Regions from separate parts of the Homo sapiens genome. Here all the other regions are linked to region 2. Evidence: promoter capture Hi-C in 16 types of primary human blood cells and fetal thymus (Javierre and others, 2016). All regions are on one chromosome and are shown on one strand. Each heading gives the region's core, a stretch centred on a gene start or on the middle of the fragment in contact. The rest is flanking DNA. Distances are from core to core; before and after follow the strand shown. Region 1 overlaps FAM118B (family with sequence similarity 118 member B). Region 2 holds the start of NCAPD3 (non-SMC condensin II complex subunit D3). Region 3 overlaps STT3A-AS1 (STT3A antisense RNA 1). Region 4 overlaps RPUSD4 (RNA pseudouridine synthase D4).

The links. The method cuts DNA at HindIII sites, captures the fragments that hold promoters and counts their contacts. A CHiCAGO score of 5 or more calls a contact.
Region 1: a contact is called between a fragment that was not itself captured here and the fragment with the promoter of NCAPD3 in region 2, in 1 of 17 cell types (neutrophils). The highest score is 6.5, in neutrophils.
Region 3: a fragment that was not itself captured here is called in contact with the fragment with the promoter of NCAPD3 in region 2 in 2 of 17 cell types (neutrophils and monocytes); the score reaches 9.9 in neutrophils.
Region 4: a contact is called between a fragment that was not itself captured here and the fragment with the promoter of NCAPD3 in region 2, in 5 of 17 cell types (monocytes, neutrophils, fetal thymus and 2 more). The highest score is 15.5, in monocytes.

What each region holds. Positions count from the first base shown.
Region 1 is chr11:126,227,483-126,230,182 of GRCh38, forward strand. It overlaps FAM118B (family with sequence similarity 118 member B), which reads left to right. Exons shown (of 9, transcript NM_024556.4): 2 at 1,743-1,811. Among named protein-coding and RNA genes, the nearest start is that of FAM118B, 17 kb to the left of the region's middle. The HindIII fragment of the contact is 2,916 bases long and covers 1-2,700 here.
Region 2 is chr11:134,222,700-134,225,399 of GRCh38, forward strand. NCAPD3 (non-SMC condensin II complex subunit D3) reads right to left here and starts at 1,268. Exons shown (of 35, transcript NM_015261.3): 1 at 1,164-1,268. The coding sequence starts at 1,227. It overlaps VPS26B (VPS26 retromer complex component B), which reads left to right and starts at 1,972. Exons shown (of 6, transcript NM_052875.5): 1 at 1,972-2,646. The coding sequence starts at 2,424. RefSeq lists enhancers at 1,709-1,758, 2,549-2,608 and a silencer at 1,879-2,348. The HindIII fragment of the contact is 9,666 bases long and covers 1-2,700 here.
Region 3 is chr11:125,586,781-125,589,480 of GRCh38, forward strand. The region is part of intron 1 of STT3A-AS1 (STT3A antisense RNA 1); the gene reads right to left. Among named protein-coding and RNA genes, the nearest start is that of STT3A-AS1, 4.4 kb to the right of the region's middle. The HindIII fragment of the contact is 4,824 bases long and covers 1-2,700 here.
Region 4 is chr11:126,205,333-126,208,032 of GRCh38, forward strand. It overlaps RPUSD4 (RNA pseudouridine synthase D4), which reads right to left. Exons shown (of 7, transcript NM_032795.3): 4 at 356-449; 5 at 136-280. Among named protein-coding and RNA genes, the nearest start is that of RPUSD4, 5.0 kb to the right of the region's middle. The HindIII fragment of the contact is 1,248 bases long and covers 627-1,874 here.

The DNA of each region.
Region 1 (2,700 bases), core at 91-2,590, 8.0 Mb before region 2:
GTACACCTGAATGTGAACTCGAAAGTAATTGTGTAATGATGAATGAATGAAGTGAACTTGAGTGACTTTTTTGTACCTCTTCATGTTGTAAAACATTTATTTTCCTTTTAATTCTAAGAATAACTGTAACACGAATCTACTTCATATCTTTCTTATCCTTCTGTTCTTGGTTTTGCTATCAATGGTTTTGGATTCCATGCTCACAATGTGGGGACCTCCAGGATATTTCACCTGGTGCAGCCAAGTGAATTCACTTAATCACTACAGACAGTTACACTTGAGGGTTTTTAATGGTAAAATTTTTTAATTTTCAAAATTTGTTATTTATTTATTTTTGAGATGGGTTCTCACTCTATCACCAGGCTGGAGTGCAGTGGCATGATCATGGTTCACTGCAGCCTTGATTTCCCAGGCTCCAGTGATCCTCCCAACTCAGCCTCCCGAGTAGCTGGAACTATAGGCATGCACTACCACACCTGGCTAATTTTTGTATTTTTGGTACAGATGGGGTTTCGCCATGTTGCTCAGGGTGGTCTTGAACTCCTCAGCTCAAGCATTCTACCTTCCTGAGCCTCCCAAAATGCTGGGATTAGGTGTGAGCCACTGCGCCCAGCCAAAAAACTTGTTTTTAATTTTCAGCTCTATTTAAGTTGGAAATCCTCAAGGAAGTGAAAAGGGGTGAAAATGAAGTGGAATGTATTTACTAAACATTTTTTTTTTTGGTTTTGTTTTTTGAGACAGGGTCTCGCTTTGTCACCCAGGCTGGAGTGCAGTGGCATAATCTCAGATCACTGCAACCTTAGCCTCCTGGGTTCAAGCAGTTCTGCCTCAGCCTCCCTCCTGAGTAGCTGGGATTACAGGTGTGTGCCACCACACCTGGCTAACCTTTGTATTTTTGGTAGAGATGGGGTTTTGCCATGTTGGCCAGGCTGGTCTCAAACTCCTGAGCTCAAGTGATCCTCCTGCCTCGGCCTCCCAAAGTGCTGGGATTACAGGAGTGAGCCACTGGGCCTAGCCCATTTTAATTTTTATGGCAGGAAAGTCTTCCCTTCATTAAGACTTGTCAATTTTTCGTTTGTTTGTTTGTTTTTGTTTTGAGATAGAGTCTCATTCTGTTGCCCAGGCTGGAGTGCAGTGGCATGATCTTGGCTCACTGCAACCTCTGCCTCCCAGGTTCAAGAACTTCTCTGCCTCAGCCTCCCGAGTAGCTGGAATTACAGGTGCCCACCACCACACCCAGCTAATTTTTTGTATTTTTAGTAGAGATGGGGTTTCACCATCTTGGCCAGGCTGGCCTTGAACTCCTGACCTCTTGATCCACCCGCCTTGGCCCCCCAAAGTGCTGGGATTACAGGCTTGAGCCACCCGCGCCTGGCCTCAAATTTTAACTCATAGAGAATATCCTTTATAATGATGGCATCTTCTGGAATGCCCCAGACTTGGAAGAATCTGCATTTGTACGCAGTATGTTGTGTTTACTCTGTTGACATAAAAGTAAGCTACTGAGGGTTATTTCTCATAGGTAACCCACACTATTTTTGTAGTAGAAATTCAATTGTTAAGGACTCACTAGAGTCCTTAAAGAGTTATCTTGCCCTTAAAGAGTTATTCAATTTCATTTTTAATGAATAACCTATGCCATTTATGATGGAATTGTTTGTGTGATCATACTACTTGATCTATGGGAAATATCTGATATTTTAAAAGTCTCCTTACTTAGCAACATGTGTCATTATTTTCAGGATATACCTTCTCAGAAGCTGCACAGGAGGAAAGCAGTGACAAAGAAAGAAGTTGTCATTCTTTGCACGGTAAAATCATCACCTCCAGTCACCAACTTCTAATTCAAATTAGGTTTTAATTTGTTCATTATTTCTTCTTGGAACACTTTTGTTCCCTATACATATGCGTTACTTTGGCTTTATAATAGAAAATAACAAGCAACATCTGAGCTCTTTTGTTTGTTTTTTTGTTTTTTGAGACAGAGTCTCACTCTGTCACCCAAGCTGCAGTGCAGTGGCGCCATCTCGGCTACCTGCAACCTCTGCCTCCCAGGTTCAAGCGACTCTACTGCCTCAGCCTCCCGAGTAGCTGGGATTACAGGCGCCCACCACCGCACCCGGCTAAATTTTGTATTTTTAGTAGAGACGGGGTTTCACCATCTTGGCCAGGCTGGTTTCAAACTCCTGACCTCACGATCCACCCACCTCGGTCTCCCATAATGCTGGGATTGCAGGCGTGAGCCACCGTGTCCAGCCACATCTGAGCTCTTGAGCCTGGAATACCAGTATGATTTATTTTGGGGGCTTAAGTTAAAGGGCATTCTAGAATTTGGGGTTTTTCTTCTCAATCCTTAATGTCTTTCAGAAACCTTACCTCTAGTGAGGTCTTTCTCCTTACCTTGTTCAGATGGGGTCATTGTTTGCTAGTAAAATGGCAAGAACAAGTGGCATCAGTCTGGCATTTCCTCAGTGACTCTGTTAAAGCACATGTTCAGGAAATGAGTGTGATACAGATCTTATCTGACAGAAGGTAGAGGGTCTCAGGCATGCTAAGGGATAAAATTAGGAGCCAATCGAGTTCACCATAGATGAAATATTTCAAGACTGGGATCCACAGAGGAATCAGATCTTGGCACAGCTAGACATGATTCCTGTCTCCCTGTGTGCTGAGATAGAGGAAACCGTGAGTTTGCTTTAT
Region 2 (2,700 bases), core at 18-2,517:
AAGATGATTCTTCAATTGGACCTGAATGTAAGAGTTTTGCCAGGCAAATAAATGCAGAAAAGTGCCTCCCAGCAAGCACAGTGTAACAAAGCACACAAAGGGAAAGAAATTAAAGTGTTTCTAAATGAACAAAATTGTTACAGTGTTTGCTTGTGGGTATTAGTATCTGTTCAGCAGTTATTATGTGGCAAGTACAAATTTATCTTTACAAAAACCCCTGTGAGGTAGATATTGTACTCCCCATTTGACAGATCAGAAAACAGGGGTTTAGCAAGGATAAACAACCTGCACGGTAATACATGGATGCTATGGGGTAGAGCCAAGGGAACAATCCAAGTGTGTCCGACTCCAAAGGTTATGCTCTTGGAAAATCAAACTGGAGAGAATGGCAGCTCTTATAAAGCATGCCAAGGATGTGGTCATTTATTTAGGAAACAAAGGGGAAACATTAAAGGTGTACAGGCTTGACACATTCAAAGCTGTGTTTTCAAAAGTCGTTCTGCAAAAGTGTGGGGGATGGGCTGGCACAGTTAACATCAGAAAGCAGCTAAAATACTCCTGCAATTGCTCGAGGCTATGATGAAGGCAGCAGCATCAGGAATGGAGCGGGGCTGCCCTGAGACACCTCAGAGGCAGGACAGTGGTAGTGGGCATGAAAGGGGAAGCAGAAATGCCATGACTCCTGGGTTGGTGGCTTGGATGGTGCCATTAGCAGGCTTTGGGAATCCCATTTTCACTCATGTGACGTTTGATGATGTCTGCATGTGAGACATCCAGTGGAACCTATGAACATGAAGTTCAAGAAATAAGTCTGGCGGAAGAAAGAGATTTGCAATTTAAAACCATCTTAATAGGTAAGAATAGATAGGTGCACGAAGACACGCACAGGAAGAAGGGGAAGGCCGAGAAAACAGATGCACAGGCGCTAGAAGAGACTGGCCAACATTCGCTTATTCTAAGGGTGGCCTGGCCGGCTTGAGCCCCCACGGGAAACCTGGCTAGCCGCAATCCTGGCGTGGCACGGCCCTGGGGACCCCAGGCACCGCCGACAGCCGGGCGCCCCCACCCCGCCCCCACCGGCACCCCGGCCCGGGCTTAGGCATCGTCGGGGACGCATAGGACCCTCGCCCTGGCCCCCGGGCCTCCCGGCTGCATCTGCTCACCGAGTCTAAGATCCAGCGGACACCAGGGCTGCAGGCCGCTACCAAGGCCCCGCAACGCCACCATGATCCCAGGGCACCGGCTCGCCGCCGCCGTGCTCAACTTTCAAAGCTCGCTCCCGCGCGCGCGCCGAGTCGTTCCTGTGGACCAATCACAACGTACAGAATTTCCCACTGGCCAACCACCGCGCCGAGCCGTTTCCATTCGCTCAACCAATCACCGGCGTCGTCCGCCGCACGCTCAGAGAACTGGGCGGGCCGAAAAGTGGAAGCCAAACAAGGCTCCTGCGGGTGTTCCGCTAATTCGTTCGAGAAGGAGCCAGGGCCTGAGTTAAACCCTAACAGCGTTTTTCCCGCCTCGTTTTTCTTCAATGGGGGAAAATCTAAAGGGTATCTGAGATAGGGTACTTCCGGTAGTAACTGTCACCTTTGCCCTCGTCAGGCGACATTTCGCGTGCGTGTCAAAGGGCTGCCTTTCCCGTCAGCACTCGAACAGCGTAATATCCGAATGTGAAAGGCAGCCCAACGTGTATCGAGCTAAAGTAATAAGGGAAAAGTAGCCGAAAGCACTCCGAGAAGACAAGACAACTGCAGTTCTGTAGGGACTGCGCGGCACGCGTGGGCCCAGAGCCTGTCCCAGCGAGGTAGCAGCTGCCATGCCGACCGCTGGAGCGCCGGCCGCGCTCTCCCTGCGCATGCGCAGCGAGCTCTCCTCCGGGCTGCCGGGAGTCCCAGGAGCGTTAGGGGGTGCGCCTGCGCGCCGCTGCTCCAGCGCATCCGGGCTGGAGCTCGCCCGCCCCCTCCCCCGCCCGGAGCCGCCGAAGCGCCTCGGTGCGTTGCACCGCCGGAGGCTGGGCAGCTCGCAGCGCTGCTCGGCGCTGGACCCCACCCGGCAGGCGCAGGCCACCCACACCCGGCTCTGTGCGGCTGCCCCCCGCAGCATTGCACGGCCGACCCTCGCCCGCCCACTGCCACCGGCCGCGGGACTGGCTGGGACTGGCTCGGCCGAGGGCACTGCTCCTCGGTGCATTGCTGCTCGGGCGCCGCAGCCCGCAGCCGCCAGCCTCCCCCGGCCGTGCCCCTCCCCCGTGGAGCCGGCTGTCCGTCGGCGCCCACTGCCCGGCGGCAGCGGCGGAGCCAGGCAGCCCCGCGGCGGCCGAGCGCGCTCGCGCATCGGGCCCTCTGGCCTTCTTTACCTAGGGCAGCCCGCGCCCCGGTGCGAGGGAGCGGTCCTTACCGAGACCCGCCCGGCCCGGCGGTGCGATGAGCTTCTTCGGCTTCGGGCAGAGCGTGGAGGTGGAAATCCTTCTGAACGATGCAGAGAGTAGGAAGCGGGCCGAGCACAAGACGGAGGACGGGAAGAAGGAGAAATATTTCCTCTTCTACGACGGGGAGACGGTCTCCGGGAAGGTGAGCCTTGCCCTCAAGAACCCCAACAAGCGGCTGGAGCACCAGGGCATCAAGATCGAGTTCATCGGGCAGATCGGTGAGTCGACCCCCGGGACCCCCTCCCCCAGCGCCGACAGCCGGCCGGGGAGCA
Region 3 (2,700 bases), core at 143-2,642, 8.6 Mb before region 2:
TCTGAGTACGTTAAGTCTGCTAGAAACGTAAATGACACATTCATGTACTGATGTGTTAACTGCTCTGCACTTAATAAAAGGATAGCATCTATGAGAGAAAAGGCAACTACAGTTGTCCATTCACTGTCTCCTCATTTTCCACCCACAAATAGTACTTTATTTTCTGATTACAGCAGTAGTACGTTCATTCTGCTCCTTTATGTGTGTTTACCTCCATCATTGAGATTGCTCTGGTGAAGGTTACTGTTCATCAGTAGTGGGGTGGAATAGATAGTTTAGCAGTCATCTCACCTTTTATTCACATATTCTGGGCTGGGTGCAGTGGCTCACGCCTGTAATTCTAGCACTTTGGGAGGCCGAGGCGGGCGGATTATGGGGTCAGGAGATCGAGGCCATCCTGGCTAACATGGTGAAACCCCGTCTCTACTAAAAATACAAAAAATTAGCTGGGCGAGGTGGCACGCGCCTGTGGTCCCAGCTACTCAGGAGTCTGAGGCAGGAGAATCACTTGAACCTGCGAGGCAGAGGTTGCAGTGAGCCAAGATCGCACCACTGCACTCCAGCCTGGGCGACAGAGTGAGACTCCATCTCAAAATAAAAAAAACAAAACGATATTCTGCCAAAGTTGTATAACCTACAGCAGTTAAAAGGAAGCTGACTTCAGGTCAGTGCAATTTACACCTTTGTAACAACGAGAGCCATACACCAGTACAAATTTTGGATGGACCTAAAATGAGTCTGCAGAACCACTGAAGGATCAAGTGAGGGAATTATGACTTAATCACGTAACAAGCATTTGAGCACCTTCTCTGTCAGGTACTGAGCAAGGGACTGGGGACTCAAGGGTGAACCAAAAAGATATGATTACTGCCTTCTAGGACCTGACAGTCCAGTGAGAGAGACTGACAAGCAAATGACTATGCAAAAATTTCAAGAATTACATGATCAGCTATTTTTCCATAGGTCTCAAAGCTGGATAAAACACTGGAATTCAGGGAATCTTTGAGTAAGATGAGCAATTAGCCCATATGTTCAGCCTCTCCTTGTACTCATTCTGATTTCAAATTTAAATATTCTGTAGTGCTTTGAGACCTAGAGAAAGAAAACAATGACCAATTAATCATTTAGGTAAGTTCCTCTAATCATTCCTCTTCACGAGGAATCAACATCGGAATCAGCTCAGCAGCTTTTCCAAAACACAAATAACAACACCTGGCTCTGGAGGAAATTTAAGTAATTATGGAAACAAAAGGTAATTTAAAAAATTCTAGTAACTATTTTCACAGAGATTTCAGAAGCTACTGCATCCATAAAGTAAGAACAGATTTGGCCGGGCGCCGTGGCTCACGCCTGTAATCCCAGCACTTTGGGAGGCCGAGGTGGGTGGATTGCTTGAACGCAGGAGTTTGAGACCAGCCTGGGCAACGTGGTGAAACCCCGTCTCTACAAAAAAATACAAAAATTAGCCGTGGTGGCTCGCACCTGTGTTTTCCACTACTTGAGGGCTGAGGCAGGAGGATCCTTTGAGCCCACGAGGTTGAGGCTGCAGTGAGCTGAGATGGTGCCACTGCACTCCAGCCTGGGTGACAGATGAGACCTTGTCTCAAGGGAAAAAAAAAAAAAAGTGACACTGAAGAGGCTAAATTAGTGAACTGCAAGATAATATTGAGGAAATCTTCCAGAACATACAGCAAAAAGATCAAGAAAAAGTTAAGAATGGTAGAGGTATCCAAGAACCAGGAGATAAAACATTTGTCCAACAGCAACTTCAGAAAATGAGAATAGAAAAATGGAGATGAATAAAATCAAAGAACATTTCCTGAACTGATGATACAAATTGTAGTTTTCAGACTGAAAGGGCCTGCCAAATGTAAAGCAGAAAAAAATGAAAGAAGGTGAAACACATAGATGAAATCTCTAAGGAAAGACAATTTATCAGAGAGGGAAATAGATTACCGATAAAGGAAAGTGACTCAGATTGGTGTCAGGTTTCTTAAGGCACAGTGGATCACGAACAATATAGTCACAGAGGCTTGAAAGTGTGCTTTTATGTGTCTGTGTGCATACGGGGTGGGGTGGGTGGGTCCCAATTTTGTTCCTAAAATTCTAAACCCAGCCATGCTATTAAGGACAAAATACAGATATTTTCTAACACGCAAAGGCAATGTTTGCTTCCATTCAGCCTTTCTAAAACACTTACTTGAAAAAAAATTCATCAAAAGTGAAAAATAAATCTAAGAAATAGCAAGATGTCTTATCAGATGATAATCTATGAAAAAAAAGAAAAAGAACTATGTCTTATTAAGACAAAACACCCAACCAAATAACACGAAACAGTGGAATCCAGAAGTGCATTCAGGGGAAATCCCAGTAATACAACTTTGCACACACGTAGAAACGTGGTTTCTGGAGAGAACAGCTTGGAGAACACAGATACTATTACTCTGGTGTGCTACAGATGAGATGAAGGCATGAGTTTCGTTTGATTAATGATATACAAGAAAGGTAAACTGACGCTTTAAGAAAAATGAAAAGCTCTACGAAAAAGTTCTAACTTCTACATCAAAACATTCCTTTTAAGCAACTGATGAAATAGTAAAAGCATTGTTTTCTGAAACAACCAGTTCAAAACTTTTGGACTTATAAATCAGGAGGGAGGAGGATTAACTGATACACTATAATTCACGTATAAACTGTAGG
Region 4 (2,700 bases), core at 1-2,500, 8.0 Mb before region 2:
CCCGGCCTCAGATCAGCACCAGAAGCACATTCTCACACAAGTCAGCCACACTACTAGCTGCTCAGAACGAGGCCCTGGACAAAACCTGGTGGCACAGGGTTTTGTGATCCCACTGCGGAAAAGTGACACTCTCACCAGTGATGGGCTGGAGCTCCACGAGGGCGGAGGAGAGAGTGCTGCTGAGCACCTGGTACTGAGTTACAGCAACTTGCGCATTCCGGCTGCGCCGCACTTTCACCATTTTCCCATCGTCCATGCGGTAGCTCGGGGACAATGTCATCTGAAGCCAAAGAAATCAAGATATGATTCCCAAGGAAGAGCAGCAACCCATGCCTCAGGGAGGCTGCTCGCTCACCTTGTGGTGTTGCTGCTGGCCTTGCGCCTCCTTCTCCACAATGGGGATGTCCACGACTCCTGCTGAGGGCATGGGGACATGCACAGTGATGGCCCTGGGGGTGACACAGATCACTGCTTTAGCCAACCAAGCCAGAGAAGAACTCCTAGATTTGGCCACTTAGAGGATTTCACGCTGGACCTTCTGCACTAACATGTGATTTCTTATGATTGAAGGATCGTGCAAGATTCTCTTGGTGTAATGCTTAGCCTGAGAGCTGATAGATTTCACAAGCTTATCTTTTTTACTACTAAAGTCATACATGCTAATTGTAGAATATTTGGGGTAAAAAAAGAAAAAAATTACATTAATAACATGGTCTTTCCAGTCTTTAAAAATGGATATGTACAGTTAAAATAAAATTATGGTAATATAGTTTTGTATTTTTTTTCAAATAATAAAAGATTGTAGATTCTGACTGCATGGTAAATGAACAAATGAATAATTGGATGAATGAACCTAATAAAACATTCAGAGAACCGTTCCTGGCTCATTTGCCACATAGGTAAAACAGGAGGGAACTGTACCCGAAGAAGTCACAGGGGACAGGCGTGGTGGCTCACACATGTAATCCCAATACTTTGGGAGGCCAAGGCGGGTGGATCACTTCAGGTCAGGAGTTCAAGACCAGCCTGGCCAACATGGTGAAACCCCATCTCTACTAAAAATACAAAAAAAAAATCAGCCAGGCGTGGTGGCGCGTGCCTGTAATTCCAGCTACTTGGGAGGCTGAGGCATGAGAATCGCTTGAATCCAGGAGGTGGAGGTTGCAGTGGGCCAAGATTATGCCACTGCACTCCAGCCTGGGAGACACAGCAAGACTCCGTCTAAAAAAAGAAAGAAAGAAGTCATAGGTACCACAACCACAACTCAATAACTCATTCCAAATCACTTCTGTTGGTGTTCTCCCTCCCATGACCTCATGACCTCACAGACAGGTAGAAGACTGTTTAATCTGTCTGTAAATTTATGCCTCTTTCAGGTCAATGATGGAAAAGTCCATCTGGGTACCTGGTGGTCGGTTGTATAATCACTAACCACGGGGTCAAAATCCTACTCACACACACTATTTCACAACGCAGACACTCCACTTCAGTTTCAGCTACTATCTGGTACATTTTATCGTATTTTACAGATTTTGTAGATCTTCTGTGACAAGAATGTCCTTCCTAATGATATGACACTACAACTCAAGAATGTTCCATCAGCAAGACCCAACTGATTGATTTCAATTCCTCCATGAACCTGATACCGAGAATGGTTACCAATTTTGAACCTTAATGGACATTTTTCACAAATAACATAACATGTATTTTATAGTCTTAATATTTTGATTGCTTGAATAGAAAAATAAGTCTCTATTTTTTATTTTTTAACTTTTCCTATGAACTAGGTACTGTGTTAAACATTTCACAAGAATCAATCTTATTTAACTATCTCATAAATCCTACTGTTTCCATTTTTCAGATGAAGAAAACAAAGCTTATGGACATTTAATAACCTGCCCAAGGCCCCACAGCTGTTAAATGACACAGTTGAGAGTTGAACACACATCTTTTTGAGGTCTTAGCTACTGTCCTAAATTCCTCCATTCTCCATAATCTTATCATAGTTCTTAAATTTGATTGTATATCAAATTTTAAAATACAGATGCCAATCCCCACAACCACCACACTTACGAATGAGAACTTCTGTGGGTAAGTCTCAATCATACATATTTTTAAAGGGCTCCTCAGATTCACAAAGTATCTGCAAAATCTGTAATCTAAAAAGGACTAACATTCAAAATATAAAATGAATACTTACAAATCAAATAGAAAAGAATAAACAACCTGGGCCAGACACAGTGGCTCACGCCTGTGAGCTGTAAGCGCTGTAATCCTAGCACTTTGATGGACAGATCACTTTAGGTCAGGGGTTCAAGACCAGCCTGGCCAACAGGCTGAAACCCCATCTCTACTAAAAATACAAAAATTAGCTGGGCATGGTGGCATGTGCCTGTAATTCCAGCTAGCTGAAACATGAGAACCACTTGAACCAGGGAGGAGGTTGCAGTGAGCCAAGATTGTGCCACTGCCCTCCAGCCTGGGTGACACAGCAAGACTCCATCTCAAAAAAAAAAGGCCAGGCACGGTCTTAAATAAAAAAAAATAATAATAATAAACAACCCTGTAGAAAAATAGGCAAAAGAAATAATCAGTCTGTTCCCAAAAGGGAAACTCAAATAGCCAATAAACATGTAAAAAACATGTAAATTGATAGCCAATATCACTGTTATACAAGGAAATAGAAAATATCTTTTTTTT